Regions from separate parts of the Homo sapiens genome. Here regions 2, 3, 4, 5 and 6 are each linked to region 1. Evidence: promoter capture Hi-C in 16 types of primary human blood cells and fetal thymus (Javierre and others, 2016). All regions are on one chromosome and are shown on one strand. Each heading gives the region's core, a stretch centred on a gene start or on the middle of the fragment in contact. The rest is flanking DNA. Distances are from core to core; before and after follow the strand shown. Region 1 holds the start of MANBA (mannosidase beta). Region 2 overlaps NFKB1 (nuclear factor kappa B subunit 1). Region 3 overlaps NFKB1 (nuclear factor kappa B subunit 1). Region 4 overlaps SLC9B1 (solute carrier family 9 member B1). Region 5 overlaps SLC9B1 (solute carrier family 9 member B1). Region 6 overlaps NFKB1 (nuclear factor kappa B subunit 1).

What was found. The method cuts DNA at HindIII sites, captures the fragments that hold promoters and counts their contacts. A CHiCAGO score of 5 or more calls a contact.
Region 2: a fragment that was not itself captured here is called in contact with the fragment with the promoter of MANBA in region 1 in 1 of 17 cell types (monocytes); the score reaches 6.4 in monocytes.
Region 3: a contact is called between a fragment that was not itself captured here and the fragment with the promoter of MANBA in region 1, in 1 of 17 cell types (neutrophils). The highest score is 5.1, in neutrophils.
Region 4: a fragment that was not itself captured here is called in contact with the fragment with the promoter of MANBA in region 1 in 1 of 17 cell types (total CD4 T cells); the score reaches 5.5 in total CD4 T cells.
Region 5: a contact is called between a fragment that was not itself captured here and the fragment with the promoter of MANBA in region 1, in 12 of 17 cell types (total CD4 T cells, monocytes, naive CD8 T cells and 9 more). The highest score is 9.7, in total CD4 T cells.
Region 6: a fragment that was not itself captured here is called in contact with the fragment with the promoter of MANBA in region 1 in 1 of 17 cell types (monocytes); the score reaches 6.5 in monocytes.

What each region holds. Positions count from the first base shown.
Region 1 is chr4:102,759,054-102,763,677 of GRCh38, reverse strand. It overlaps MANBA (mannosidase beta), which reads left to right and starts at 2,710. Exons shown (of 17, transcript NM_005908.4): 1 at 2,710-2,960. The coding sequence starts at 2,784. RefSeq lists a silencer at 2,546-2,675 and an enhancer at 2,766-3,115. The HindIII fragment of the contact is 23,862 bases long and covers 1-4,624 here.
Region 2 is chr4:102,519,435-102,523,722 of GRCh38, reverse strand. All of the region lies in intron 1 of NFKB1 (nuclear factor kappa B subunit 1), which reads right to left. Among named protein-coding and RNA genes, the nearest start is that of NFKB1-AS1, 19 kb to the right of the region's middle. The HindIII fragment of the contact is 2,372 bases long and covers 956-3,327 here.
Region 3 is chr4:102,609,880-102,614,041 of GRCh38, reverse strand. NFKB1 (nuclear factor kappa B subunit 1) reads right to left here. Exons shown (of 24, transcript NM_003998.4): 20 at 3,343-3,467; 21 at 1,932-1,998; 22 at 1,436-1,608; 23 at 461-617. The region is part of intron 1 of LOC105377347 (a long non-coding RNA gene); the gene reads left to right. Among named protein-coding and RNA genes, the nearest start is that of NFKB1-AS1, 110 kb to the right of the region's middle. The HindIII fragment of the contact is 2,288 bases long and covers 111-2,398 here.
Region 4 is chr4:102,957,118-102,961,733 of GRCh38, reverse strand. All of the region lies in intron 3 of SLC9B1 (solute carrier family 9 member B1), which reads left to right. Among named protein-coding and RNA genes, the nearest start is that of SLC9B1, 60 kb to the left of the region's middle. The HindIII fragment of the contact is 822 bases long and covers 1,022-1,843 here.
Region 5 is chr4:102,988,579-102,993,148 of GRCh38, reverse strand. It overlaps SLC9B1 (solute carrier family 9 member B1), which reads left to right. Exons shown (of 12, transcript NM_139173.4): 2 at 1,437-1,506; 3 at 3,208-3,349. The coding sequence starts at 1,438. Among named protein-coding and RNA genes, the nearest start is that of SLC9B1, 29 kb to the left of the region's middle. The HindIII fragment of the contact is 7,430 bases long and covers 1-4,570 here.
Region 6 is chr4:102,542,673-102,546,641 of GRCh38, reverse strand. The region is part of intron 5 of NFKB1 (nuclear factor kappa B subunit 1); the gene reads right to left. Among named protein-coding and RNA genes, the nearest start is that of NFKB1-AS1, 42 kb to the right of the region's middle. The HindIII fragment of the contact is 711 bases long and covers 1,140-1,850 here.

The sequences.
Region 1 (4,624 bases), core at 1,461-3,960:
TAGTGGTGTACATAGTTTCCACTACCTTCTCTCTTTGTTCTAACATTTGGGGCTTCAAACTCTGGGGAAGTATGTCAAACCTTTGGGCAGGATACTTATGGGCTATTATCCCCAGTCCTGGGGTTTAATCAGACACTATGAGTCTAAAGGCAAATGTCCACTCCACATCTGATTACTCTTTCATTTTCTTTCCCTTATTATAACTTCTGTAATATATCATGGGATTGGAATATCATTGGCCTTGGTATATACCATGGTGTTCTAATGAGTTTACCAATTTTATATATTTAGATATGAAGGAAATGTTGTCATATAGCAAAGGGCCTAACTACTTCCATTGGTCTGTTGTGACAGGATACTGACCCTACACATCATTTAATCACCGTGGGCATTATTTATCTTTTTAAACCAGGGAACGATCACTTGTTCTAAATAATTCAAGTTTTGGGAAGCATCAAATGAAATGATCAAAATGAAATCTGTTTATACAGTGTAAGTTAAAGATACCCATAACTATTTTAAACATTGCATTTGGTATCATGACTTTAAATTACATAAGTTGAGAAGTTTTATGTTATCTCTAAATAAGGTTTATTTACCAGAAAATCATGGACAAAAATTATCCTATAACAAAATGAAAACATCATGTCATCTGTGCCAATTGCAATTTTAGGAAGAGTACTTATTAGGGCTTTGATTATTCTTTGATGTTCTCTGTTGTCAAAGTGAAGTAACCTAAATGATGTTATGCTTGCATCCTGGAATGAAAGGAGGAATGAGAATCTTCTATTATTGTTTTTCTAAAAATTATATTTCTTAATAAACAGAATATATCCATATGTATCATCAAGGATGAATTTTCCTCTGATTTGGCTTAATGAAATCTCTGGGAATTATGAAAAAATTCCTTTGCCGCTCTTGTTGCCATAAACCTTGTGTTATCAGTGTTGCACAGACCATGGCTAGCCATTTAATGCCGTGAATTATGGCATATAATTTGAATTGAGAGCTTTGTTTCTATCAAAGGTAAAAATGCTTCTGGAGTGAGTGAGGAAGGCTTTGAAGCAGTGAGAGCGTTTCCCCTATAGCATCATTGGGCTCTGACAGTAGGACCTTGAAGAGGAGGGTTCTAATCCTGTCTGCCACTATGTGACAGGCAAGTCACCTGATCTTTTTTTTTTTTTTTTTTTTAGAGTCTTTCTCTATAGCCCAGGCTGGAGTGCAGTAGTGCCATCTCGGCTTACTGCAACCTCTGCTTCCTGGGTTCAAGCGGTTCTCCTGCCTCAGTTTCCCGAGCACCTGCGACTACAGGCACGTGCCACCACGCGCCCAGCTAATTTTTGTATTTTTAATAGAGACAGGGTTTCACCATGTTGGCCAGGCTGGCCTCGAACTCCTGACCTCAAGTGATCCACCCGCCTCGGCCTCCCAGAAGTGCTGGGATTACAGACGTGAGCCACCGCGCCTGGCCCCGATCTCTTTGAACTCAGTTCCCTCATCTGTAAAGCCAGCGGCTTGGGTTGGATAATCCATACTGTCCTTTAAGCCAAGATATTCAGGGCTTGTAAATAATGCTGACTTTGCAAAGTAAGATATTGCCCGGTGTCTGCAGAATCAGGCAATTCCAAGGCCATTGTAAGGCGAAACAAAGCTCAGATTTGATGAGAGAAAATTTCTTTTCAAGGACTTCTTCCGAAGCATAAATATACGGCAGATAGCGTCAACACAGGAGAAAGGCAGTCTATTTTATGCAATGTAAAATTCCGTCTTAACTTCTAGGATTACTGTTACATCCTATTGCAAAAATGGGACTCAGGTAGACCATTTGACTACAAGACCCGAAATAAGTCAGTGGTATTTCTTGGGTACTCTGGCATTGTTAGGGACGATCACATATGTTTACTCATTTTATACTTATAACACCTTGAAAACTTCAAGAAACGGAGATGGAGATTTTGCGGCTTGCCCAGGTCCCACAGCTAGTGAGTGCAGAGGATTTTAAACTCAGCTGCGCGCCTAGTGCAGGTTCCAGAACCTCAGAAACCTCCGTGGGGCTTTATGAAACATAAGGACGCAGGCCGCTAGTAACAATAGCTAACGTGAATGCCTTCTCTGGGCCAGGCTCCATGCTGCATGCTATAGTCGCATTTTCTTGGTTAGCCCTCAGAACAACCTTCTGATGGAGATACTGCTAGTACTTGTTTACTCTTTGAAGGGCGGGGTAGGCTCTGAGACCCGCGAGTTGAGCTGCAGCGGGGTGAGTGTTACGCTACCAGGTAGACGAGGGTCTGTGTAAATTTGGCGGAAGGGAAGTGGTGGGTTGTCTCCCAGTTTGGGTTCTCTGAAGGAGTGAGGGGACTCTCCAGCTATGGTCTCCACGTACAGTCGGTCTCTGATCTCCCGAGGCTTTGTGCCACTGCGCGCCCAGGGATCTTTCTGTCCCAATTACCGTGCAAGATTCTTGCCTCCAGTTGTATGTACTGAGGCGGCGGGAAGAAGCGCCGAGGGAAGGCTCAGACCGCAATGCCCCCCAGCCTGTAGCTATTCTCGGGGGCTGCAGCTCCCGCACCCGCGACGCCCGGCTTTCAGCGGGTGCAGGCGCAGCCTCCTCGTTCCCCTCCCGCCCGCGGCTGCGCCCGGAGAGCGCTCAGCTGACCTAGGGGCGGGGCCGGGGCGGGGACCTAAAGCCTCGGCTACTTCCGAGGGGGTGAGTGGCTTCACCGCCGGTCCCTTGCAGCGCTGCCTTTCGATCTCTCCACATCTCGGTGGCGCGGGATCTCAAGATGCGCCTCCACCTGCTCCTGCTGCTCGCGCTGTGCGGTGCAGGCACCACCGCCGCGGAGCTCAGTTACAGCTTGCGTGGCAACTGGAGCATCTGCAATGGGAACGGCTCGCTGGAGCTGCCCGGGGCGGTCCCTGGCTGCGTGCACAGCGCCTTGTTCCAGCAGGGCCTGATCCAGGTATGGCGTGCGGCCGACCCGCGGCGAGCCTGCGCCCGCCTTCTTCTGGTGCTGAGAGGGGCCCAGGAACCGCCTGGCAGCCCCCAGCTCTGGGCCATTCTCGTCGGTTTGGTAGTAACTTCCCCTTTGCATCTTGTGATCTGCGGGGGGAAATGCCCAAGCTATGGGGTACGGGCTTGACGGAGACTGAGCGACCGACCCATGTTGGGACATCAGTAACTCTGGAAAGGGGAAGTTTAGATAGGGGAACAGTGTTGCTACTAGCAGTTTACTTACTGCAGTCGTTCTCTACTGAAGCGTGTATACAAAGGGCATGCCGTCACTGACAAGCATAAGGTCGGGAATTACTGTCTCTACTGTCTGCACGCCACAGGGGACAACAGCGTTTTGTTAAGTAAGGGTTAACTCTATTGAGTAATGTCTCGGTTTTTTATTTTCGCTGTTAAGCGTCAGGGAGTCAGATTTGGGATTGACGCAGCACAGACGTTGTGGAGAATGACCTACAAGAGTAAAGTTGGGTTTGTCAGTGCTAGTGTGGCTAACAACGGGTAAATAATTTTTAAGGCTAACTTGGTGATGAAGAAAGGTGCTATTTCCTCTCAGGGCGTGTGTGTGTGTGTGTGTGTGTATCCCAATGGAGTCTCCAATTTACAGACTACTTGTGGGGAACGTTTTCGTGTTTGGCTGCCTGTGCGCATAGGTTTGCAAACTGACTTCCATCCTCCAACTGCTTTTGCTGTTCCCTCTTGCACAGCGTTCCCACGTGTTGTCTTTACTTGGGGCAAAATGTACTTGTAATTGATCTACTTGTGGGATGCATACATTGTCCAATCCTCATAACAACTCTGTATAGTAAGTGTTCATATCTGAATTTTATGGATAATATGGAATTATGGAACACAGAGAAATTAGGAAGGTGACAGCAACTAAATGGAAAGAAATGGAATTCTAACCCAGGTGGTCTCAACTCCATAGCCTGGTCTCTATACTATGTGGTATGCTTAGTTTGGTGTTTTAAAAAATCATGTGTTTTTGAAGCACTGTGGCTGACTTTCAGGAGCACCATTCTAAGTTTATTTGCATGACAAGGTGGTCATCTAGGGTTGTGCCAAATTTCTGACCTGGTACTTAGTAGTTTTTTTTTTTTTTTTCCTGAGATGTGTATCAGAAAGGAGGTGAATGTTGTAAATGACATTGACCATTGTCCGATGTATTTTTAGAGTAGATCATTCCCAAACTTTAGTACTTTATTTTAAGTTGACAAACTACTTGTGATAGAGAACACAGCTGACCACAGTATACTCTGAGTTTTCACTTATATCTGCTTTGAGAATGCCTGTGTTTATTTTGTAGGGTTCCTCCTTGCCTGATTTTACTGAAATAATTAAGCCAATGGGTGCTGGTACGTGAGAGCTTTGGGAGGCCAAGGTAGGAGGATCCCTTGAGTCCAGGAGTTCAAGACCAGCATGGCCAACATAGAAAGAGTCTATGAGGCCGAGGTGGGAAAATTTCTTGAGGCCAAGAGTTCAAGACCAGCATGGCCAACATAGAGAGATTCTATCTCTAAAAAAAAAAAAAAAGAAAGAAAGAATTAAGCCAATGGGAAATAATGAGTGGCTTCAGTAAGTCAGATTATTGTGCCATATTACAGAGCTAAGAAGCTA
Region 2 (4,288 bases), core at 892-3,391, 240 kb after region 1:
CCTAGGGGATGGCAGATAAATGAGAGGGAAGGAATGAGGATCCCTGAACAATGCCATGAGACAGATCTGCTCTGACCATCCAGGCTGCTCATGCTGGTGGTGATGAGAGAAAGAAATAAACTTTGTTCTTTAACCCAAATGCACTGTCAGGTCTCTTTGTTCAAAGAGTTTAGCCCTCACCGTAATGAATATATCACATAACACTCCAATAAGCACAAAGCCCTCCAAAAAAGAATCTGATTTTCAAAGAAATCCTCTCCTGCTGGAGCACTGTGTGAGTGAGGAAGAGTGAGAAAGCTGATGAGCATTCTAGGGGGATGCAGAGCAGTGTACAACTTTAACAAAAAGGAAAGGGCAGCTCTGAGTCCTTCAGAACATGAAGTTCATGCAGATTTGCAGGGAAACATTTGTCTAAAACAAGAAAGTATTGATTGAAGATATACAGACAGCCACAATTAAACAAATCTCAATTAAGACAAGCAGTTAAAAAAGGGAAATTTGACCTGATAGAGTAAAGAGGGTAAGTCGCTTGAAATTTAAGAGTTCTATCATGCTGGCTGTGTGATCTTGGATATTAACTAAACTCACTGTGGCCTTTGTTTCTTCATCTGTAAAAATGACAGATTTTGATGGAATGGATTTTTGAAAAGAATATAACCTTGTTGAGATTAGAATATGTTAATTAGCAAATAAATGCCTATTCAAAGAACATATCCCCTAAGTCTTAATATTTTTTGGTAAACTTGGATTTTTACACGTATTTATGAGTATATATCTATAGTAAAGAATCATTAGCATAGTTTTCAGTTATAAGAAGAATACTAGTAAAAACATTACACTTAAATACAGTACTGAATACCAGCTAGAACAATCAATGTCAAAATCCCTATCCTTAGAATACCACAGAAGCTCAAACTTCCAAGAAAAATATTAAAACCATCTTTGCCCTTAAGCTTTCTGTCGATCTAGACTGATCTCCTGAACCTTCATAAATAATATTAGCCTATGGTCCTCAAAAACAGAGGTGAGGCTGTTGATGTGTTAATTATACTGATTATATACATTTAAACCTGTGGATGGTTTTCCAGACTTCTGAATGTAAACAGTTAACATAAAGCAGTCCTCACTCTAATTTTTAAAATTCAAACGAAACCTACTTTATTAGAACTGATGCATGATCACTACTATAGCTAAAACCTTAATGAAAATCTGTCAATTGCAGGCACCCAACTGCCAAATTAAACATGATCTTCCCCTTCAATATCCTCCCCATGATTTATACACCAATTCTTGCCAAAGGATCACAGTTTCAAAAGCCTAACAGCAGTCCAAGGCTCACGTGGGTGATAGTTAAAATTTGAACTTTTATAGCCTTTGCAATACAGTTCACTGTAAAGAGCTGAGGTAACAGTAACGCTATGGTGATGTCAATGTTAATTCACAATTTAAAAATGAAATGTCAAAAGAAACCAAGAATCATTTGGAAAGGATGAATCACTAAGTAATATTTGCATTAATTATAAAAGCAGGTTTTATTTCTAAAATGTTGAAATACCAACTAAGCGTCTGGAACTAAAGGATTAGAAAAGACCAGGGAAAACCCCTTCTACCTCCCTGTTCCCCCAGCCCTTCCCCTCACTTTCCCTTGTTCAATTCTTTGCTTTTGAGGAAGGACCTTGAAGCCAAAAGGGCGATAGTAAATTTCCAGGGGAGAAGATGGGACTAATCTCTGCATCTCTTTTCCCAGTAGTGAGGTTTCTAGGAAGATTTTCACACCATGGAAAAAGAAATAGAAAGTATAGCTAGCTAGCAACAAATAAAATAGCCAGTGAATTGCTTGTGTTTTTTCACATGAAAAACATAATGTTACAACTAGCTTAGTTCTGAACATGTGATGAGTTCTATAAAATGCCTAATGGGTTATTTTCTGAACCTGTGTGACAATGCCCCCACTAACACCAAAGTGTAGCACATGAGCTTCTTGGTGAAGGCTGTAGGACTGAGTGGATTAACTTGAAAGCCACAGAATTGAGCCATTAAGGATGGAGTTGGGGGCACGCCTGTCCTTGTAACTGGGGAAACTTTCTAGGATCAGAGATATTCACACTTTTGACCATGACCCACTGTAAGAAAATGTATTCTTTCTATAGGATTTCATTTTAAAAAATAAAACCTTTTCGAACTCATTAAAATGATTTTCAGTTTGAAAAAATAAAATTTTAGGTGCCATCCAGAGAGTACAGTTGGGAATCAGAGAGAAGTGTCTCTACTTTCAAGATTATATTCAGCCACAACAGACACCACTTAGGTGTGATTTTAATACCTCATCTTGGATAGCAATGAGGATGAAACTACAAGAAAAGGGGTGGCTTTTCATCATTTCTCTGCTGGCTAATAAACTGATAAAGAATGTGAGGAAGCCTCTTCCACAGAGGAATTTTCTGGAGGAAACAAAATACTTTGCATAAAATGTGAAACACTCAAATGAGAGTATCTTTTGATTCTGCAATTCTACCTCAGGAATTTGTACTTAAAAATTATCTGAGCAAGTGTGTAAAAAAATAAGTACAAGGATATTCACTGCAGCAAGGAACTGGAAATAATCTGTATGTCCTTTGATAACAGATTGTTTAATTATAATTATCCACATTTATAAGTTAAATATGCAACTGTTAAAAATAATACAGTATACAATATAATCTGTATACAGTAACTGGAAACTTTTACTAAGTTATATGTTTCTATATTGTAATTTTCTAACTGAATTATGTAATTAGAAACATATATTTAAATAGGAAAAAGGAAAAATTTAAATCTCTCCTGAATTTAAGGTTTGACTCTGACATCTTTAACAATTAATGACATACAGTGAATAAAACATGATAAATGAGCCAAAAACTTCTAAGCACTACTGAAATCTTCATAAGAAATACAATAGAAAAATTTCAACTTTAAAAGAGCTGTTGATTGACAACTTTCTGATATTGGCTTAGTGGTGATGAAAGAAAAGTTGATCATGGCTTAGTTACTTTTTTTTTTTAAAAGCTGATTTCTGAAAGTTTTTAAAAAGGAATCAATTTGGTGCACTACAACATTTAGATTTGTATAAACTAATTTTCCATGTTTTAAAGCTCCTCCTTCCACTTCCACATCCATGTTTCATTTGGGTGCAATGTGATCAATTAACATGTAGAATAGCTACCTGATATACCAAATACATTGTGCTTGGAGCTGGTAAAGATAAGGTACCTGTTTACAGTGGAATGTCAATCCAACAGGTATGGCAGATACATATACAACATTCAGCTAGTGAGTTCATACAAAGCTTATTAACACCGAGTATAATACACAGCAAATGTTAGCCATTTTATTAGATGGCATAATAAGCAATATATGTTTGTGGTAAATTATAAAAAGAGGAATATAGACAGCAAAAGGTTTAGACATTCTGAGAAGACTCAAGTATTTTGTTTCCCATTCTACACTTATGGGTACGCTGACAATTCCCTTTCTAAGGTGGCTGGCTATGTGTCACTGCTAGATAAACTGTTTGCATTTTGCCCCCAGGGGTCATTTGGCAACGTTTGAAGACATTTTTGCCTGTCACAGCTGGATAGGTGGTCCTACTGGCATCTAGTGTATAGAGGCTACAGATGCTGCTACACATCCTATACTGCACAGAATGGCCCCTCACAATAAAGCATTATGCAACCCTAAATATCAATAACGCTGAGCATGAGAAACCCTAATGAACATCATCACATCATGACAGTGCTTTGGTTCACATGGAGAAAGAAGTAAACTTTACTGACTACCTCATGGGTAAAGAACTGTAGCTAGAACTTCACATATTTCTCTTAATTCTCACACCAATCCTGAGAACCAATGTCCTAGATAAGACACTGAAGCTGAAAGAGAGTAAGTCATTTGCTCAGGTTCATATAGTAATGCTAGCTAATCTGACCCCACAGTCTCTGGTTCTTTCAGTTGTTTAGGAGGCAGAAGTGGTTTTCCTCTTTGGCATATAACATTACTTATTTTAATATAGTATCTTTGCTTCAGGTCTCCCAAGTGTTCTGGTTAGAGCTAGTCTACCCATAGCACAGCCTGAAAAGCAGAATAGGATTCTGACAATACACAAAATGAGTTATTCACAAGGCAATCACCTATGAAGATAAAAATACCAAACAATGTTAACTCAAGTGATAGTTCTTTTTTTAAAAAAAAATTTTCTTTGGTCTATCTCAAAAGATAGAAGGAGAATAAAGAGATTCTCCCTGAACCATGT
Region 3 (4,162 bases), core at 5-2,504, 150 kb after region 1:
TATAGGATTACTGGGCTGGGTTGAGAGTCCATTTCATATGGTTGCGAGACTTTTGGTGGCATGACACGTAGTCCCATATATGGTGGGGGACAAGGTCAGTGTCATAAGCTTGAGAGAGGAGGCAAAGGAAGAAGGAGATGGTTCTCTCTTTAAGGTAAATATTATTTCTCTCATGTGTTAAATTTAATCACCCACATCATGTTGTTTTTAGTATTTATTGTATTATTTAGTGTTTACTAAGTAGTTCATGTGTCAATGTGATTTTCCAAGGGTACGACCCCCTCATCTGAATGGTACTATCAAGAGAGGCAGAGGGTGAGCCCAGGGGGTAGAGAGACACACAGGGAAGTGTATCCAGAAAACGAGAAAGAAAACTGCCACACCATATCCAAAAAGAGCTGAAGACACCAGCCTGGGGGAGCTGGAAAATATCTCCACTGTCTTTTGTCTTTTTTTTTACCTATTTGCTGCCTTGTGGAGGCAGGCGAGAGAGGCAGCGAGTGGGCCTGAGAGGTGGTCTTCACTGGGCTGGAGGCTGCCTGGATCACTTCAATTGCTTCGGTGTAGCCCATTTGTCTCAGGGCCTCCACCAGCTCTCTGACTGTACCCCCAGAGACCTGTGAGAAAGAAAGGAAGGAGGAGCATGTTCTTGTGTTCGAGTCCCAGTGCAGGCTGTAAGCACTGACAGCCCACCCTTCCCTCTTCCATGCTGCCTCCTCCACTCAGGAGCCAGGAGGAAATGGAAAGGGCAGAGAAGAGCGACTAAGAAAATACAGTCTTCGAATCAAGTTTCCTGTTTCGGCTCAAAGACCACTCAGGAAATCACAGAGAAGTGGTTTGTAGTAAGCAGAGAGAGAGACAGCGAGAGAAGCGCTGAGGCAGTGAAACTCTGCCTACAGTGACGTCTACACAGTCTCCCTCTGTAAGCTGAAGCTCTGAAATCCATGCAGAAACAAAAGCTAACCATGAAATTTTCAACAGAAAACTTCACCCCATGCTTTTCTACATTTTATTTTTAGAAATGAAAAAAAAAAATCCCCGGGTAATGGCTCCACTAGGAGTCACCTCACAGAACATGACTCAATGCCCTGCCATGGGGTAAGGTGTGTTCTTGGGGACAGGAAGCTACACGTTGATTACAGTCGATTGTTTGCTCAGGGCCGTTAAAGTTCTGTGAAAATCCTGACCCTCTACGTAGCATTTTCACAGGAAGTCTCCAGGTATTTGAAAACGGGGAAAATCTGAAGGTATCTGAAAACAGCATTCTCAGGAAGATGGGCTGCCAACTTGGCCTGGGTCACCCTCCCAGGCCTTGGGCAATGACTGGTTTTCTTCTTCAGAGTTAAGGAAAAGGGAAGGAGATTATGCCCTGGCCAGAGATGTTAACAGAGTAAAGTCAAATGAAAATTGCTAAATCTGTAAGGTAAGGTGTTACCTCATAGTTGTCCATAAGTGTTTTGGAAGGAGCAGGACTCAGCCGGAAGGCATTATTAAGTATCCCCAGACCTAATTTCTGCGCCAGAGTAGCCCAGTTTTTGTCTGGATCAGGAATTTCTAGTAACTTATACAGCTGCAGCTTCACATCTTCAGCCAGCTGTTTCATGTCTCCTGAAGGAAATGAAGAAGGAACACACTTGTTCTAACATGCCATAGACACTCTGGAGGGACTGATCATTGCTGCCTGGCTTGCTGTCCAACTCCCAGTGGAACCAACCAAGCTACTCTACTTGAAGGTCAAAGCCCAGCTGAGTAGAAGGCAGTATACATTTACAGTAGATTAAAACTGGATATTCTCCTTATCTACCTCCAGCATCTTTTGGTTCTGAAATAAGAACTTTTAACAGTAGACCCTGGATAATGCTGGTTCCTCCCTTTAAATGACAGTGTGGAGATAATAATGGTTAAGAGAATCTGGTTTTATCACAACCCACCTTGTGCTAGTAAATCATCAGATGTAAACTCTGGCTCATATGGTTTCCCATTTAATATGTCAAATACCTGTTGGAAAGAAAAACACCAGAAATCGTTATACATCGAAGGGACCACTAGGGCAGTCTGTTTCTTTATAATAAACAACTCAGCATGTCCTCCTTAGGAGGGCCTGGTACCCTAATGATGGAGGAATGGCAAGAGGAATCAGGACCACCCTCCAAGAATATGGTACCCTTTGGGGGAAGAACAGCTGTAGGGGCTCTGGTACTGGGAAATAGTGCTTTGCACAAACTCTGAGCTGGGTCAGAATACCCAACCAAACTGCAGAGAGTCAGAGCTATAGCCTTTTGGAAGGAACAGGCAGTCCAGGCCACCATGTCAATCATCTCCTGCTCAGAGACCTAAGGCTAGTGAAGAGCTTACTCAGAGCTGTGAAGCTGTCTCCCTTCTTCCATAGGAACAAGCTTATGAGAATGAATTGTATAAACTTGCTCAAATTGAGATGTCTAGATGTTCACAAGGCTTGGTGTTAACCCTCTGGCAATACTGACATTTTAACTGAGGGTCCAGAATTGTCTTAGGCTAAAAGAAAAATTATTCTGTAGCTGCCGAGGCATTTGTGGTGTTCTCTGCAGTCACTCTGTTGCTGGCTGACCTGGGTAAGGAGAGCGTGGGGTCACTGAGTGCATCATCTTTTTGTGTTCTGTGGCAAGGCCTTCTGGGGAAATGAGGTGCTAACATAAAGGGAGAACCATGCTAACGTCAGTGAGCTGGACACATACAGGCTGTGGGAGGCACATGAGCAGTTTTAGAAGTGGAGCAGCTCTCGTCTCTAGAAGAACTGATCTTGTCATGTTGGAGATCTTGCATGCTGCCCACCTCCTCCCTCTGGCTTTTCTTCCTGGGGCCAAATGACCTAGTAACTGCTTTATACCTTCAGATCTCAGCCCTGTGGAGTTTTGAGGAAGGCTTTAAATCTATTTACTCTGTTTATATTTATTGAAATTCTAAGAAGAATTCTTAGTTTATTTTTACATCCTGAAATCACTTACCTAAGTCCTAAGCAAACAGTAACATTTATCCTAGCTTCAGAAATTGAGATGGTCACAATTATGGTGTGAATTTGGAATGGGTAACTTTTATGTGAATTTTGTGTTTTTCTTCTAACCTTTTCTCACATCTCAACTCTGATCTGATTAGGCATACACTTTCGTACTCAGAACTCAGCTGACCTAGATCTTTCATGGATAGGGTTTTTCAAGATAAAAATGGTCTCTGACAAACAGACTTTCTTAAAAATAAAAGGCATGTTCTTTGGGGAATAAAGCACCAGGAAGACCATCTGTTCTTACATTCCTGAACCTCTGACTCCCTCAGGGGCAGCCATCAGACAGATGGAGCGGCACTCACCTGCCAGCTGGTGGCCATATCTAGAGGCGTGGTTCCAGGCACAACTCCTTCATCCTCTCCTGCATTTTCCCAAGAGTCATCCAGGTCATAGAGAGGCTCAAAGTTCTCCACCAGGGGATCTGCTCCTGCGAAGTTAGATTACACAGCATTAGGTAAACCCAGATCTTGTCAACTTCCAACTGCCTGCAAAGGTCAGATTCCCAAAGGCAAAGCAATGTAGCAGCTTGAGGCAATCTCCTGGATAATTTTTAAATCATAAAACATTTCTACTGGAATATCCAGAGAAATTATTTTAAAATTGTAATTTACTTTGATTGTTAAAGTGTCTTATGACACCTGAAATAGCCAAAGATACTATTGAAGAAAAAAAGACTTCAAATACTCTTTCACATTTAACTCTACAGGATATTTCTCAACTGAATAGTGCATCTTTAATCTTAGGGCTGATGGACAGCATGATTACAGCCACTAGGGTGCACCCTCAGGATTAGGGTCCTAACTGTTCAAATTTATGCATGACAATGTGTATTTCTCAGCCCCTTTTCTTGGACACTCAAAAGAGCAAAGATGCTTGATGTCTAGTGACAGCATGGCCAGTTTCATTGCTGGGTACAGCAATGCCAGGGTTCTGATCTTTAAATAAACAAACCTACTAGGATGTATAATTATTGAAATATTTTGGGAAATGTAGTCTGCTCTTTAGCATCCAGCAAAAACAAAAACAACAAACAAATAAACAAAACATCAAAGTAACTCAAAGACTAGAGCTAGAGTTACTTCTCAGAGGCTTAGATGATTTTTATGAGTGTTTAGCTTGATG
Region 4 (4,616 bases), core at 183-2,682, 200 kb before region 1:
AATTTTAAAAAAGGAATATTTTAAAGGATCAACCTACTATTTGACAGTCATGGAAATAGTGAATGGGAATTAAAGGGAAAAAAATAAGTAAGCAAAGGAAGGGAGGAGGAAATGGAAAAAGAAAGGAAAGAAAAGGAAAAGGGAAATACAAGAAAAGAGCCAAATAAATAAATAAATAAACAAATAAGTGACTGAAAGTCTGGGAGTTGGCAAATACTATTCAGACAACACTGACAAAATAGGCCTCTTGCTAAAAATAGCAGAATGCACAAAGTACAGGAGCAGCCTGTCTGTCCTGAGAGGCTGGGGAGGTTTAGGAAAAGAGGCTGGGGAGATTTGAGACAGATCTGAAGTATGTAGTCAGTTTTTGCTTGGTGGAAAAAGTAATCATGGGTGATTCAGAAAAAGGAAGATACTTACATAATAATTGTTTTGTACCTTTTTTTAGTCTTCTATTACTTTCATAAAATTATCTTTGCATCAAAAGTTATTAACACTTTCAGGACTCCTTGTACGCAAAATTCTTTGAATTGCATTTCTTAATTTGTGATCACACTGGTAATTTATATAGCACAATGAACTGAATGTGTGTCTTTATGTTTAAAGGGAAAAATAAAATTCAAAACAGCATATTTGATATAATTTATGATTACATAATAGAGAAATACCAATTTTGATATAATTTTTAGAAAGTAAAGCTTAGGCCAGTCACGGTGGCTCATGCCTGTAATCCCAGCACTTTGGGAGGCTGAGGCGGGCGGATCACCTGAGGTCGGGAGTTCAAGAGCAGCCTGACCAACATGGAGAAACCCTGTCTCTACTAAAAATACCAAATTAGCCGGGTATGGTGCTGCATGCCTGTAATCCCAGCTACTCGGGAGGCTGAGGCAGGAGAATCGCTTGAACCCGGGAGGCGGAGGTTGTGGTGAGCCGAGATCATGCCATTGCACTCCAGCCTGGGCAACAAGAGCAAAACTCCATCTCAAAAAAAAAAAAAGAAAGAAAGAAAGAAAGTAAAGCTTAATGAAAATTTCTTATTAGTAGAACTACTAAAAAAATACAGTGACTCTAAACTCATATCTTACCACTCAATAGATGTGTATCGGAATTTAAGCAGCAGAGAAATCATTTTTAACTTTTTTTAAATTTTTACTTATCAAAAAACCATATGAGCTAAAAATAACAAGGCTTCCTAAAATGTACAAACCTCACCACAGCTTTACCACACTGTTTTTTGGGGGGTTTTGCTATTTTAAAATATAAAATAATTCTTCAATATAACTCACAATTATTTAAGTATCAGCAATACTATGTTATTTATATTAATAAATTCTGCTTCCTTTTGTGAGATTAATTACTCCATAGCCTTTGCCAGTCTGTTTCTGGCCATTTTACTATTTCTCTACCCAGAGTTGTAATTGCCCTTTACCTATCCTTCTTAATCAGAACATCCTTCCTTTATACCACTTATTAAAAAATAAATTTAATACTTAATTCAATTTAATACTTCTAAATAAACATATATATATAATATAGTCAAGTTCATTAGGAATATATGTGTGATTTTTCACATTTCTTTAATGTCCAAAAAGATATCCCAGTGCATATATGTTTTCTGGTGAGTTTTAATGTACATATTATTTATTATTCTTTTTTCCTGACACTAGTGCTTCTCAAATTATCTGTGATGAAGAAACAGATGTGGTTTTTTTGTTTTGTTTTTCTTTTAAAAAAAAAAACTTTTATTTTGGGTTCAGGGGTGCATGTTCAGGTTTGTAACATAGGTAAACTTGTGTCATGTGGATTTGTTGCACAGATTATTTTGTCACCTAGGGACTAAGCTTAGTAGATTAATACCCAATTGTTTTTGTTTTTAATTTCCTATTTGATGTAGACTGATATTTACTTTTTATAAAATACAGTGTCAAATTGCTATAGAAGTTTGTAACCACTCTCCATTTCTGTATTTGTCTTGTCACTGAGAACAAATCCTTGGCACCAGCCAAGCGGGCCCCTGACCAACAGCACAGGGGAGTGTCCTTCTGGCTCCTTGCTTCCTGTCAGCGATCCGCTCACTAGACAAGTGCCTGAACCACTCCCTTGTCTTGTCTATTGATATTCAAGCAAAATCTCAATGCAAAAAGAGAATCCATGATGTAATTAGAGAAGATAAAGTGTTCTTTTCACATATATCCTAAAAAATATCTTTCCTCAAAATGTCAAAAATTCTATAACCAGAAATGTTCTGATTTTCCTAGAATGCAAGAATTCCTGGAAGAACATCTTAACAGATTGCAATGTTCTTTCATGCTCACTAGTTCATTTTATTGTAACAAAACCTATTTATGTTGGCAGGAGATAATTTTTTTATCCCCATTTTACAGATAATAAAACTGACTTACAGGTTAAAAAAATTACATATATATAGTAATTACACTTATGTTTTCTTCTTTCCCCATAATTACCATTTGCGTATGTGTGTGTGTGTGTGTGTGTGTATATATATATGTATGTCTCCTAATCTCCTATCCTTTTACATTCAACCTGCTTGTTTTATCTAAAGTTTGTTTCTTGTAGGCACCATATAGCTGAATCTTGTTTTTTTAAAGTCCTGTACAGTAATAGTTGCCTTTTTATTTTAGTCCATTCACATAATTATTGATATGGTTGGACTTGCATTTAACATTTTGTTATTTGTTTTCTATGTGTCATGTCTTTTTGTTTTTCTTTTCTTACATTACTGCTTCTTTCATGTTAACCAAGTATTTTTAGTGCCCTATTTCAATTTCTCTGTTGATTTTTTTTTTTCTTGAGACGGAGTCTCGTTCTGTCACCCAGGCTGGAGTGCAGTGGTGGGATCTCGGCTCACTGCAAGCTCCACCTCCCGAGTTCACGCCATTCTCCTGCCTCAGCCTCCCAAGTAGCTGGGACTACAGGTGCCTGCCACCATGCCCGGCTAATTTTTTTGTATTTTTAGTAGACACGGGGTTTCACCATGTTAGCCAGGATGGTCTCCATCTCCTGACCTTGTGATCCGCCCACCACGGCCTCCCAAAGTGCTGGGATTACAGGTATGAGCCACTGCGCCTGGCCTCTCTGGGGCTTACTTTTTTAAGAGACAATGGCATGGTCATAGCTTATTGCAGCCTCAAACTCCTGGGCTCAATCAGTCCTCTCACCTTTGCCTGTCAAGTAGCTGGGACTACAGGCATGTGTCATCACACCTGGGTAATTTTGCTTAAATTTTTTAGAGACAGGTGTATTAGTCCATTCTTGCATTGCTTTCAAATACCTGAGACTCGATAATTTATAAGTGGTTTAATTGCCTCACAGTTCTTCAGGCTGTACAGGAAGCATGCAGGCATCTGCTTCTGGGAAGGCTTCAGGAAGCTTACAATCATGGCAGAAGGCAAAGACATGTCACATAGCGAAAGCAGGAGTAAAAGAGCAAGGGGCAGTGCCACACACTTTTAAATGACGAGATCTCACAAGAATTTACTCACTGTCCCAAGGACAGCACCAAGAGGATGGTACTAACCATTCAGGAGAAATCTGCCCCCATGATCCATTCACCTCCCAGCAGGACCTATCTCCAACATTGGGGATTACAATTCAACATGAGATTTGGGCAGGGACACATATCCAAACTATATCAACAGAGTTTCATTGTGTTACTTAGGCTAGTCTCAAACTCCTAGCCTCAAGCAATACTTCTATCTCAGCCTCCCAAGTACCTTTGGGGGTTATAATAATCAATCATCTTCACTTTTTACAATCTACTTTGGTTTAATAATTTTTACTTAATTCCAGTGTTATATAGCAACTTTGATCCAATGTACCTCTTATATGCTATGAACTCAGCAGTATTGTTATAGTTATTGCCTATAATAATCAGATGCTTTTTTTAAAAAAGAGATGAAATCAGAATACACACACACACACACACACACATATACACACATACACACATACAATCTTTTATACTTACAAATTTATTTACCACTTCCAGTGCCGTTTATTCCTTATAGGTTCAAGTTGCCATCTGGTGTCATATCCTTTTATCTTAAAAGCATTTTATTTAGTGTTTCTTTAGCAAGGATAAGTTCTCTTTATTTTTATTTATCTGGAAATGTCTTTATTTCAGCTCCATTTTTGAAGGATCATTTAACTGGATACCGAATTCTTAATTGACAGTTATTTTTCCCTCCACTTTTGAAATGTCGCTTCATAAGGCCTCCATTTTTTTCAGATAAAAATGCCAGTATTGATCATATTATTGTTCCCCTGTATGTGATAAGTCATCTCTTGCTATTTTCATGATTTTCTTATTATCCTTGGTTTTCACCAATTTGACTATGATGGCTCTAGGTGTGAATCTCTTTGTGTTTATCCTACTTGAGATTTGTTGAACTTCTTATATTTGAAGATTAATGTTTTTCATAACATTTTTGAAGTTTTCAGACATTATGTTTTCAAATATTTTTCTGCCCTCTTATCTCTCTCTTCTCCTGGAATTCCCATTATGCATATGTTAGTGCTCTTGATGGTATCCCATAAGTTTCTGAGGATCTGTTTATTATTCTTCGTTCTTTTTTCTTTTTGTTCTTCAGATTGAT
Region 5 (4,570 bases), core at 22-2,521, 230 kb before region 1:
CTGTTGGAAAGGCATAATTGTGTTCTGAAGTGTGAGGACATGAGATTTGGGAGGGGCCGGGGCAGAATGATATGATTTGTCTCTGTCCCCACCCAAATCTCACCTTGAGTTATAACAATCCCCACATGTCATGGGTGGGACAAGGTATAGGTAGCTGGATCTTGTGAGTTAGTCTCAGAAGATCTAATGGTTTTATAAGTGTCTGGCATTTCCCCTACTTGCACTCATTCTCTCTTCTGCCACCCTGTGAAGAGGTCCCCTCCAGTATGATTTTAAGTTTCCTGTGGCCTCCCCAGCCATGTGGAACTGTGAGTCAATTCAACCTCTTTCCTTTATAAATTACCCAGACTCAGGTATCTCTTCATAGCTGCATGAAAATGGACTAATACATCATTCTAATGACAAGATAGTTATTTTGACAGTCACTTCAATCAAAATGGAACTACACTTTAAAGGAATTTAGATCTAAGTTTCTGATCAAAATTTTTAAAGGTTATTTTTTGCTTTAATAATGTTATAAATTCAGTTATGATTCTTTATAGGATTTTATGCAGTAATATTTTACTTCATTATGGTAAGACAATAGATGTAAAGCAGCTAGCATATGGTAGCTACTCAACTGTTAATGTTCCTTTTCGTTAACAATTTTCATTATTAAAATTGTTTTCCTTTTAGAAAAGTATAGATACTTGAAGCACTACAGGATATGGTAATAAGACTATCTAAAAATTAAAACTTGAAATCTTTAGTTTTGTTCTTAACAACAACTCAAAAATTGAGAGAAGATATTTTTAAGAAAAGTTACCCTACTTATATTTGAAGCTAGCAAAGATTACAGAGGAGGTAGAAACAACAGATACTTTAAAATAAAAGTTATAAGTAATTATTATTTTATTCATCTAGTTTATTCTTCTTCAAAATAAAACTTTATAGATATATTTAAATGTTGGACCTACAGATCCTTCAAATGGGCCACATAAAAAGATAGTATGTATCAGTAACTTATAGATGTAGGTATTAATGTAGTTGGTCATATTTCATTTAAAATTTTTCTGGAGTGTTTTATGTAAGAGCATGACAGAAGATAGATTAAATCAACAGTGGATATTAACTCAAACACACCAGTTCAGTGCATAAAATAAATTTCTGCATTTTCTGATACATGATTCTATGATATGGGCCAGCATTATGAACTGTTGAGAAATATTACATTTCTGTATGATAATGGTTTTTAAAACTTATGCATATGGCTTTGGTTAATAATGTTAAAGATGAATATTTGGATCTATGTTGACTATAAAGATATCTGACTTGACTGTGATACAACTTTAGAACAAAAAATCCTTTAAAAAATTAATCCCACTTAACCATGTTTGTTTTCATATGGATTTATAGTCTTGTTTCTTCTTTTAAAGTATTTTTCTTTTAAATCTTAGCATGCATACCACAGAATCAAAAAATGAACATTTGGAGGATGAAAACTTCCAAACATCTACAACTCCTCAGGTAAAAACTTAAAAGTATACTGTAATATATGATATAAAATCAACCTGATCTTAAAATTTATTCCTAATTTACTTATTAGATAGGTTTCTTTTATATATCTGGTTAAAAATGAAAAGTGGTAAATTTTAAAATAGCTAGTTGTAATGGGTCCTAGGAAATGAGCAGAAATAATGAAACAAATGGAAAGGTGTGACTATAGAGCATTTTGGAGCTAAAGAGCACAGATTTTAGGAATAAGAAGAAATGTCGCTTATTATTTCTCACCACATTCAGGGAAAACTCAGTAACTTAAACTAACAGAGGTAAAGATAAGTCTAGATTAATTAAAATGTTGTGCTGTGTGTTTTGAAGAGACCCAAGTTTTTTATTTTTATAGATATATAGAGCAAGTCGTTAGACCTTTTGTTGATCTAGTTTTACTTAGTAATAATTGCTCATAATTAGAATTGTAAATTTCGTATTTTTTTAAAATAGAGATTTCTACAGTTCTTAAGGGTCAAAAAGTCATTTTTAAAAATATTTTAAATATTCACCATTGATTCTAATTATCTGTGAAGAAGTCATCTTAGTCTACATCAGTTTATTACAAATTCTAAAATAATAAAACTTAAAATAATATGGTTTTACTCTACATGACCTTTCACCCACCTTAATAAAAATTCACCATTGTGTCTTTATCCCTTTTATATAGTAACAGAATTTTCAGAAAAAGCCTGCCTCTATACCAGAACTCCAATAGGTTAATTATGATCAGATTTGAAGAACTTTGATCTTAAAGAGCTACATAATTCATTTTTAACCATCAGCTGCCTTGATATCTCTGTCTCCTTAGTCATTACATGTAAAATTCCCTTCCTCAATGTGTCCATGCACTCTAGCCTTTTTATTGTTTCCTGTGATGATAAGATGTTCCCTCTTTCACTCACTCAAAGTATTATCAAGTCACTCAAATTGCTGGCACACACACCCCCACACCCACCCACCCATGACAATCATAAGGCAAATTTGGAGATTTCTACTGCAGAGTTAACTCTACTCTGGTGTTTTGTTGTTGTTATCATTGTTTATGTTTTGTTTTTTACATTGGAAGAAGTTTCTCAATATTCTCACAAACCAAAGATTCCTTTTTTTCAAAATCAGCAGTTTCATAATCAGGCTACCATTAAAAGGCCTGGGAGATTAAGGTATACCCTTGCACTATTTAATATGTTATCTATAAATATTAGTGGAAGCATGCTTGAATTTCCGAAGGCTTGACCTATGTTTTTCTCATTTTTCTTTCAGTTATATAAATTTATCAAATGAGATGAATCCAAGTAAAATTATATTTCACCTCCTTTCTAATTGAGTTGTATTTTCATTTCACAAAAGTTTTGGTGAATAATCTTTGGGATGTATACAGAGGATGGACACTTTTAATTATTGTGCCCAAACTGTAGGCACCTTTATTCAGTATACACAAATGATTGAAAATAGTGGGGACCCAAGTCTATAAAAGGTTCAATCAAGGTACCTTGCAAAATACACTGCTGTTACATCCCCAAACAGCTACTGATATGGAGCATGAATCTTCTTTTGTATCTGTGATTCCTCGCATTGACAGTAATAATATAAATTTAATTCTAAAATTTGGTGGTTTATTTCATTCATAAAATTATACAGAAAGTATGGTTCCTTAAAGATTTTCTTGTTTTACTACAGAGTCTCATTGATCCTAATAATACTGCACAGGAAGAAACTAAAACTGTCTTATCAGATACAGAAGAAATAAAACCACAGACAAAAAAGGAGACATACATTTCTTGTCCTCTAAGAGGAGTATTGAATGTAATTATTACAAATGGTATGTGAAACAAAAAATGTAAATGAAGAGAAGATGAGAAATATGTTTGATAAATATTAAAACATGAGACAACAAAGACACTACTTAATCAATATACTCCAGATCAGATGATCAGCTTTGTTACAAGCAATATGTGAACAAAGAGGAAATATTTTCTTGAATCTTTCAAAGATAAAAACAAAAACAAAATATTGCCTAGGAGGTGTATGTTTTAATATTTGTCATACTTTTTTATGTTAAATTTTTGGGATTAGAAACATCATTGATTAAAGGATTTTATTTAAAACCTACTTTGACATTTAGTTTTAAGTTAGCTAGAAAGAACATTATAATTTTGGAAATAATTATGTTTCTTATTAAAATTGGGCCCTAAGTTTTAAAACAGCAGCAACCTTGTAAAAAGTTGTATAACACTTGCTTTCCCACTACAATTTTAAAGCATAGTGTTGTTGTCAGCAAATACTTATAAAGAGATTTTCTTGTGTATGTTTTTCTAAATATTCTGTTTGATTAAACCTATGAGAGAAAGAGATTTTGGCTTCCAGAAGTATATAGAATTTTGTTCCCTATAGAGAACAAAAAATTGATTAAAAATGATGAAGCACAAGTAATTGAAGTTTTAAATTTTTATTTTCTTATTTGCTGCTTGCTAACTTTAAACTTTTGAAGCAAATTTTATTCATTGATTTTTTTCATTAGTAAAGGTTGCTTTTTAATTTACGTCAGTATATTGATGGCCTTGAATCAAAGTTTTCTGTGAACTTGAATAGTCCTCATCTGCCAGTGTAAGTGATTGGACTCCTTTGTAAATATACATATGTTCCCATGACTTGGTCTATTTAGTAGGCCATTTCTACAAAGCAGTTATTAGGAGTAGGGCCAGGGTCTGTGGAAGAGAGGGAAATGTATTATTTACCAAAATTATTCACTGAGTGTGGACTACAGTTTGCTCAGGAACTAATTGAGGAGTTCTAGAACATCAGAACTAAAACTGCAGGTTTAGATATAACTCATTTCCCCCTTTGTTTTCTTTCATTTTTGATTTTGCAGTTTTGGAGACATTTATAGGAAAAGGAGATTTTCTGTGTTTCTATTTAGGGGTGCATATTCTTGCACTCTCTTTTTTGAAATCAATCTCTCTCTGTTTGTCCCTCTCTCTCAACACACTCCCTACATTCACACTGTTTCCTTTATACACAAAGTATAGAATCTCAATCTCTG
Region 6 (3,969 bases), core at 246-2,745, 220 kb after region 1:
ATTTCCAGGGCAGCTGTGGCCCCAAAGTCCACCCATATCCTATTGTGTTTTCCCAAAGTTTTCTTTTGTCTTACGGCGCCCCAGTAGTTTTCATACTTTCTAATAAACTCAGCTATGCATTAAAGAAAATGTTATATTTTTTTTCTAGTGTTACTAAGTGTATTGTAGTGGGAGAATTACCTACTCTACCAGGCTTTGGAAATGGAATAAAATCGATATTTTAAGTAGGTTTTGAAGCAGATTTTTATGGGTAGTAAGGTTTGAGAGCCACACTGCACTGTCTCCCATAGAGCTCCTGAGAAAACATGCTGGAAACTGTAGCTAAGTAAGACAGCTTCACATTTTTTTTTTTCCTTCAGTCCAATGTTCTGCTACTCAAGGTGGAGTCAGGTGTTAACCAATCTTCTTTAAGTCATGGATGAATAAATAAAGCTAAAGATACATCTATATGCTTCCACCCAGGCTTTATAAAAAGAAGCTAATATTTGTAATCACTACAAATATTAGCAATAATTTGAAATCCTGTTTTTTTTCTTTAAAAAATTTTTTTTATAGAGACAGGGTCTCACTATGTTGCCCATGCTGGCCTCAAAATCCTGGGCTCAAGCAATCCTCCTGCCTTGGCCTCCCAAAAGTGTTGGGATTATAGGCGTGAGCCACTATGCCCAGCTGAGGTTTATCCTTAATATTATGTTATAAGCAGTTTTCCACGTTGTGCCGTATCCTCTTAATTATCTTTTTAAAACACAGTGGCATAATATTCTATTCCACGGTATACATTGAATATCTATTCAATTATCTGTTGTAATATGTTGCCATTATATAATGGCATGTATTCTTAGAAACTGTCATAGAATTATTGTAGAATCCAAGATTGGCTAGATGATGCACTGTGATTTAGCAATTGTGCAGTGGTTCCCAGGCGTCTCTGTGGTTGAAACATTTTTGGACGATTCTGAAGCCCACCCATGATTGTGAACCATAGATTTAAAAGATTCCTGCAAAGTAGAAACAGATCCTTAACATTATGATAATGAATGGTATTCCACAATGGTTAAGAGTGCAGGCCCTTAAACCATATGGCATGAACTGAAATCTTGGGCTCCATCTCTAAAAGCCTGTGAGACCCAAGTTAAGCTTCTTAATTTCTCTAGGCTTCAATTTCCTCATTTATAAAATGCGGATCACAGAACCTGCATCAGTGGATTACTGTGATGATTAAATGAGATGATGTAAGTAAGCACATCAAGCCATTATTATAATCATTCTGTTGGGTAGAAGGGGACCTAAAGGCAAAAAGCATTGTCTGTGAAAGTCTGCAAGCACTTTCCAGCCCATGTCCATGAGACCCCAGGGAGGTGAAGGTAGTCTGGAGGCTTCTTATTTGGAATCCATCTGGAGGGTGGGGAGAAAAGACTGAGACTGCAGGGTAGCCTCCAGCTTCACCTCTGGACCTGCAGATGGGTTGAAAAACAACTTGTCTGTGGAGGAGGCAGTGGAACACATGTGGGGATCTTAGTGCTTCTGTGTGTTCACTTGACCTTATCAAGGCGAATTGCCAATATGTGACTTTATGAGGTCAAGACTCCAGAATGGAATGCCGAGAGTTGCCCCACTATACCTTCAGACTGAGACCACTGGGTTTAAAAGAAGCCACCAGAGATTTGTTTCGGATTGAACAGTGGTCCCAGAAATAATCATGTGTCAAGGAAGAGTGGAGGGCAGAAAAATGGGAATGGCCAATAGAGGAAGGTCACCAAGCCAGAACTGACAAAACAAAATTTAAAATTCAGACAGTTCTTAAATTCAAGGAGTGTATATCTCTCCTAATAATTTCTAAGGGTTAAGCTTCCCAGCTATTATCTGTGTGATAGGTTTTCTCTAATGAGTAGCTTTCTCCACTTTATAATAGTGACTTTGAATATATACAGCGGATTTAGAGGGCTATTTAAAAAAATATTTTACAAAGTAATATTTTGTTTTAGGACAAAATACAAAACTTCTGAACTACTTGCAACAAAAATTACCTATAAGTCTCAATTGTGGTTACATATGGGAGGGAGTTTTGTCTGCTTGTCTAGAGCAGTACCTGACACACAGTGCTCAATCAATATTTGTTCAATGAATTGCCTTCTCTCTTTTGGCTTCAATCACTAATGGTGAGCTTCATGCTTAATCTGCAAATGCATGGAAGAGCAAGAAAGAAAAAGCAGTGAAGCCCATTCAACTCTTTTGGCCATCAATTCAGTTTCATCTTTTTTCCACCTACTGGAAAACTGAAGGGAGGCTTTCTGGGCTATGTGTTGAGCAACATAAAGCATTTCACTTCATTTAAAATTGATTAAAAATGCAAGAATAAAAAAAGAAAAAATCTTAAAAAATATTACATAGATCATTTAAAAAGATAGCTGCTATCAAAAAGCTAAAGTGATACAAGCTATAGCATGATTCTTAACCATGTTAAATCTTTCCCTTTGAAAATATGATAAAAAGTTATACTCATCTCCCAAGAAAAAATGCACATACATACATGTGTAAGTCTGCATATAAATTTAGGAATCTAAAAAGCGTCTGAAACCACCAACAGGGATCCATAGACCCCAGGTTACAAAGCCCTTCTGTTCAATAAGCAGCTTTTCTCATGGTTTACAAAACACACAGTATAATGTACATAGGGGTATGGTTATTTTCCCTAATTAAATACTTGCGCAGTGAACAGCTTAGGGGTTCAATGGAAATCCTAATAAATGATATGAACTAGGTTCTATACGCACACATAGCTGATTATTGGTGATTTTCTCCCCTGTTGTTTTAAGTAATTGAGTCAGGTTAAATTATTTTAAATTAGTACTCCAAATAGATCCAAACCACGTGAATCAGACAAGTCTATACAAAGGAAAGGGAGATTATGCAAGGATATGTGATATCCTCAAATGCCACAGCAGATCGGGTAGTCTCTATTCGACCTCGACAGAAACTTAACATTTAGGATTTTTAAGGAAAGGCACGAAGAGTGGAGCCTTTTTTTTTTTTTTTTAAATCAGTAGTGGAAGGGGACAACAAAAAAGCTGTTGTTGACCTAAACATTTCAACACGTCTTCCACTCAACATAAAACACTCAGGAAAGACAACATATGTGAGAACCAGCTTTCAGAAAATGTTTGATTAAAAATAGTTACACTTCTATCAGCTGGGTTTCAAGTCCCTTGCATTTGATATTTATAACTAAAGAGAAACTAAGAATACTAACTGGTAAGCTATTTGTACTTTACAATCAAAGTCATTCTTGTCAATTTCTGGTTTTGCATAGAGTGGACCACACAGAAGGACGTGTCACATTAGTTAGGATAGGAAGGGGTACTTTCTGGTCACTCTAGAGGAGGATTGGTGAGAGTTTCTGAAGTCCCATGGGGCTGCTTCTCTTGTCACCCACCTCTGTGAAAGGGAACACAGTTTGATTTTTAAAACTTCACGCGTGGCTTTCGGGAAAAATAGGGAAGTGAGCCTTCCCTGGCACTCCTTGCTGAGTCAAAAGCAGGCAGGGACAAGCTTGGCCTAGAGGAAGGTTCCTGTGCTTTTCTGCCAGCCTCTCCTATTAGGAGCTCCGTGATGAAATTAGAATGGAAAAAACTTTAAAGGGAAATTTTATAGGCAGTATAATAGATTATTAAATGTTTAATGATGGGAAATTTTTCTTATGAAAGGACAAGATATAAGAGTTAGTCTGCATACTTACTTCCCCTAGATTTTTCTCTGAATATTATTTTTTGCTATAAGAGTTAGTACAAACTACATTGTGACAAATACATTTTTATCTAGACAGCAAAGAGGAATCAATAGGATCAAAGTGAGTACCAGTTAATCTTCAATGGCGTCCAGTTTGAACCTATGTTTGCCCTGAAAAGGAGCCATCCTATACAATGGCAAATTTGGGTTGAAGTTAGTAAAAATTAACTTTCTTGAAAATGC